Regions from separate parts of the Homo sapiens genome. Here region 2 is linked to region 1. Evidence: promoter capture Hi-C in 16 types of primary human blood cells and fetal thymus (Javierre and others, 2016). All regions are on one chromosome and are shown on one strand. The core of a region is centred on a gene start or on the middle of the fragment in contact, and the rest is flanking DNA. Distances in the headings are between cores, read along the strand shown. Region 1 overlaps DNAI1 (dynein axonemal intermediate chain 1). Region 2 holds the start of MYORG (myogenesis regulating glycosidase).

The links. The method cuts DNA at HindIII sites, captures the fragments that hold promoters and counts their contacts. A CHiCAGO score of 5 or more calls a contact.
Region 2: a contact is called between the fragment with the promoter of MYORG here and a fragment that was not itself captured in region 1, in 1 of 17 cell types (endothelial precursors). The highest score is 6.3, in endothelial precursors.

The regions. Positions count from the first base shown.
Region 1 is chr9:34,495,585-34,498,284 of GRCh38, reverse strand. It overlaps DNAI1 (dynein axonemal intermediate chain 1), which reads right to left. Exons shown (of 20, transcript NM_012144.4): 10 at 1,086-1,170. Among named protein-coding and RNA genes, the nearest start is that of ENHO, 26 kb to the left of the region's middle. The HindIII fragment of the contact is 736 bases long and covers 1,028-1,763 here.
Region 2 is chr9:34,375,542-34,378,241 of GRCh38, reverse strand. It overlaps MYORG (myogenesis regulating glycosidase), which reads left to right and starts at 1,344. Exons shown (of 2, transcript NM_020702.5): 1 at 1,344-1,449. RefSeq lists a silencer at 980-1,369 and enhancers at 1,415-1,995, 1,996-2,577. The HindIII fragment of the contact is 6,785 bases long and covers 1-2,700 here.

The sequences.
Region 1 (2,700 bases), core at 146-2,645:
GCTGTCAGGAACAAACAAAATAATAACATGTAAATTGCATAGCACAATGCCTGACACACAGGCTACTCCCAGTGAATGCTGGAGCTTGTTTCTCACTATTATAACTGTTCCCTTTTCTCCATTCCTTAAGACACAGGCTAGGTCAGGTGTGGTAAGGCCCATTCCACCCCACATTTGAGCCTCACCTCCACCTCTGCCCTATATTCTACACAATCACATCCTCCTCCAGCCTTGCTCTCATCGGGCTGTGTCCCTGCCTAGAAAGTTTCAGTTCTCTGAACTGTCTGCAGAGATAGGTCACATTCCTTGCATGATATTCAAGGCCCTTCATTAATGGGCTCCAACAACCTCTTCCGCCTGAACTCTCACCTCTTTTCAATGAAGATCCTGTTTGGGTCAGGGAGCCTGCTGTCCCTTGTCCCCAGAGTCCATTCCTATTCGGTTTCACTGCCAAGACACTGCTCATGCCATCCCTGTCCAGAACATCCTCCCTGTAGCTATCTTCTCTCACACACTCTGCTTCTCCCTTGGCATCTAGCTAAGCCCTCTCCAAAGCCTTCCATAACTACTCCCACTCATCCCTCACTTTCCTTCTCTCCTATGTGAGGATCCCCAGAGTGGTTTCTGTCTACCCCATACATTCTGGCATTTATAGCATTCCCAAGGTGCTCTGAGTAGAGGACAGAGCATAGAATGAGGAAGATCGAGACCTCTATTTGGGTCCTCTCTGCCACTCACTAGTCAGGTGGCCTTAGCCTTAGCTTCCTCATGTGTACAGTATGGGCAAGTCTCTGCTCTGCCTGCCTCCCAGGGTTATCAGGAAGATGAGATTGGATCACCCATGTGCAGGTATTCTTTGCTGCACCACTTCCAGATCTCATCAGTATACACATTGTTTCTTATGCCATCAGTCATGGTTAATCCACATAAGTCTTGTCTCCCCAGTGACATCCAGAGGACAGAGGGATTATTTTTTCTCCGCTTGCACCTATAGGAGCTAGCAAGAGACACCCAAATAACCCAAGCTTTTATGAGAAATTTTTAATACAGGCAATAATAGTGGTTGCCAGAACTTCAACTCTTACCTTGAGCAATGTCATCATATGTATTCTGGTTGACCATCCGCTCCATGATCTTAGCAGCTTGGGACAATTTGATGAGATCATCAGTCTGTGGGGATACAGAAACTTCAGGTCCTCATAAACCAGCACTTAGCAAGGTCATATGTCCTGAGCCATGTCACCCTTGCAATTGATTCAGCAGTAGCTCTCTGGCACTACTCACCCCAGATAGCTCTGTAAAGGTTTCTCTGCATGTCTCAAGGCCCAGCTCATGCCACTACCCTCTTCTAGGAACTCCTACCTCACAAGTGGCACAAAGGGTCTGAGCTGATATACTTGGCCCCTGGGTAGAACCTGCTTCATGCTTTCATTCTGGACTTGTTTTGGAGAAGGCCTATCTCTGAGCACAAGACAGGGCATTGAAGAGAGCCCAGGAAGGGTCTGCAGGGGAGAGCAGACAAGGGCAGGTTGGAGCCTTCTTTGGTGGAGACAGAAAAGTTTTACCAGCTCAGAGAGTGAAAGACTCCCATTAAAGGCCTCAAAGATCATGTGGTTTTATCCCTTACTCAGTTACAGGCTGAGGAAGGCACCAAGGCCCAAAGAGGGGAGAGACATGCTTACATACATGGAGTACAAGGCAGAACTGAGACTCCTAATTCCAGGCCCTCCCCACAGCCCAGACCAATGAGAAAGCAGGAAGCTTAACTTCAGGAAAACGTGACTCATCTTGAACCAAAAGGAAGCTTGCCATTGTGTGAAATTCCATAAATCCCCAAGATGAGGTGCTTGGCAGGTTGACAGAAGAGCAAAGAGTTTGGGACTAACAGGAAAGGCCCAGAGGGCTTAGGGCAGGTGGCAGGAGTGAGCCAGCTGAATGGGCAGCCCTCCAGGGTAGGGTCAGGGGGCCAGGCCCATGGCTCCCAAGGATTCGATGTCTCAGAAACAGCAGCGTCAGGTAGCGGTTAAAAGGATGGGTTCTAGAGCCGCACAGACCTGCACTCCTATCCCATCCCACCAAAATTAGAACCCGGTGGCAACCTCTGGCAAGTTATTTAGCTTCTCTGAGTCTTAGACTCCTCCTGGTAAGTGGGGGCGGATGGTGGCATCTGCCTCATCAGGTCATTGTGATGGTGAAATGTGATAATACATGTTAGTGTCTAACCCAGTTCCCGGTGGTGATGGTGTCAGAGGAAACATGCAGAGTAGTGCAGCGAAGGGTTATGAAGTCACTTCTGGGGAACTGACCTTTGAGGACCTTTTGCCACGCCTGAAAGAGACTCCAAGTTTATCTTTGAAAACTGACCAAGAAGGGCATTCACTGGAGTCTTGCAGTCACGGACCTCAGAGTTCACCTGGTTCCAGCTACGCTCTCTATTCTCTGACCCAGAGCAGGAATCCTCTCCCCTTAGCAGCTTCCTGGTAAGTGTGACTCTCCCCAGGTCAGGCAGTGTTTTCTGTGGCCAGATAGCCAGTTAACTGAAACTCCCTCCCTGCATCTTCTACCTATGGGCCCAACTCTGTCCTCTGGCCACAAGGAATTGGATGCTTGGTGAGAGCTCCTTTGAGGTAGGAGGACACAGCCACATGCCCTCAAGTCAGCACTTCCTCGGGTGACTCCTCCCAGCTCCATCAGTCATGA
Region 2 (2,700 bases), core at 95-2,594, 120 kb after region 1:
TTAAAAATTAGCAGGGTATGGTGGCACACACATGTGGTCCAAGTTACTCAGGAGCCTGAGGCGGGAGGGGATAGCTTGAACCAAGGACATTGAGGCTGCAGTGAGCTATGTTAACGCCACTGCACTCCAGCCTGGGCGACAGAGCGAGACCCTCTCTCAAAAAAATAAAGACCGGACGCGGTGGCCCACACTTGTAATCCCAGCACTTTGGGAGGCCGAGGCAGGTAGATCACCTGAGGTCAGGAGTTTGAGACCAGCCTGACCAACATGGTGAAACTCTGTCTCTACTAAAAATACAAAATTAGCCAGGCGCGGTGGTGCGTGCCTGTAATCCCAGCTACTTGGGAGGCTGAGGCAGGAGAATTGCTTGAACCCGGGAGGCGGAGTTTGCAGTGAGCTGAGATCGTGCCATTGTACTCCAGCCTGGGCAACAAGAACGAAACTCAAAAATAAATAAATATAAAAATAAAATAAAATAAAAAAGAAATGAAACCTCAGAGTCTTGCCCAGCCCCCGGGGAGAGGGGCATGGCGGGGCACACCCACTTTCCCGCAGCTTGGGCATTTCTAACTAAAGGCTGTAACTTAGGAGGAGGGGCTGGACCCTATAAATAACTAGTCTGGGGGTAGCGGTCTGGGAGGCGGGTGACGTTGCAAAACACCGAGCAGAAACCGGTCTTCTCAGTCCCTGACCTCGGACACCGCTGGTTTGGTCCGGTGGGAACCGACAGCTTGGACTCGCGGCGGGTTGGAACTACAGCTCCCTCCGTGGGGCCCTCGATTGGAAGCACCTGCATTGGGAGCTGAGATACTCGCGGAATTCCGCCACCACTTTTCCGTATGGAAAGCTGAGGGCTTGTGAGAGCGTTATACCGATATGGCCTCCACCTGTCCAAACCGGGAAGGAAGGAATTCCAATGGCCAGCTCTGCTCCTTTACCCTGCAGCTCTCTCCCTCTCATCCTCATTCCAAACCTAGCCTAGAGGTGCAAGAACCCCAACCTTCCGCAGCTGCTCCTTTCTGCAGAACTACATGTCCCAGCAGGCCTGGGGCCGAGCCCCGCCCGCTTGCGGGTTAGCAGTGGCCCAGGAGGGGCGGGCCCGCCGGCGGGAGTCGGAGCCGCGGGGCGCAGGACTGAGCAAGCCTGAAATGCCAGGGGCAGAGCACAGAGCGGTGGGAGGAAGGTGGGGCTGAGGGGCGGGGCCACAGATCCGCCTGATAACCTGGGAGGAGGGGTCGAACGTCAAGGGCAGGGCTGGACTCTGAGGCCCGAGACGAGACTGGATGACTGGGGCGTGGCCGAGGAACCCCAGGGCGGGACCCGAGGAGGGGCTGTGCCCTGCCAGACAGAGCCCCGCGCGGCGCGGCGGCAGCTTCACTCTGGTTCAAGCGCAGGGGATCGGCGGGAAGCTCTTTCACCCCCGCTTCTGCCGGGCTGTAACTGCAATGGGTGAGCCCAGCGGGAGGGCTGTGGGGGGCGGGGGGCTGCTGAAGGAGCACGATTCCTGAACTTTCGCTCCCACCGATGAATGGGTGGAGCGAGCCTGAACACCTGGGCCCATCCCACGGCCGCGATTCCCGCGGGGCGACAGGTCCCTTGACCTCGGTCGGCCCCTTCGGACAGTATAGCCTTCAGGGCGGGGTAGGGAGGGCGGCTGTGGAGTATTCCAGGCTATGTAGGCAGTCACTCGATCCCCGCGGATACCGTCGCCTGGCAGGAGAGGGAGATGGGCCGGATCGAGTTGCCTTTGACATTTCCATCCCCCCGGGAACTGTGTCCAACTAACGATTCTACTTGGAATGGCCTCCCCTCAGTTGAGTCGGGCGGGGCCCTCCCCCTCAGACCAGACTAGCTGTGGCAGCCAAGGCTGAGGTTGAGTGTCCGGTGGGGAGAGGCTCAGCAGGGGCAGAGCCCAGACTCCACCTGGCGGAGGCGGCAGATTACAGAGGTCTCTGGCACCACTGTTAACACCGGAACCACAGACTTCCTCCCCCAAAGCCCCGGTACCAGATGCCATTAAAATTGCCCTCTTTGCTGCCCTCGTGGTCTTCGTGGTCCGCGTGGAGCAAGCAGCAGCACCAGCCCTTGGAAAGACAGGCCTCACCATGCCATGTCCATCTGATGGAAGCTGGTCCCACCAGCTCAGCCCCAGGGCTCCTTTCTGCTACTGCATTCAGGCAGCCAGGTCAGATCATTATCTCCCATCTCCTAAAACTTACACTGTGGAGAGCTGGGCTGGGATTTTAGATCCAGGCAGCCTTGATACCTGGCTAACTTCAGACAAGTTCCTTTTTCTGTTTGGGCCACGTTTCCTCACCTGTAAAATGGACACTGCAGCTATGTCTGCTGTTCCACATTGTTGATAGAACTGGATGCTGTGGTGACATTTGGGACACTATCATGGTGCCTGGGGTGGGTGGGTGCCCAGGCCTGTGGGCTTCTGTCTTTCATCAAAGAACTTCAGATCCCAGAAAATTAAGATTCTCAAAACATAACTGTCGGAAAGGGCTTTTGAATCCACCTTGGTGGCCTCTTCCTGCCTCCAGGGCTCATGAGATAGGCTGACTTCATATGAAAGTTTTGAGGATGAGGAAGTCTCTCTCCTCTTCAGATACTGACCCTCTCTCTCCTTATTTCCTTGGTGCCCAGAATAGGGCTTTGGTTATCTTGAATGAATGAATATAAACTCACAGGTGTGAT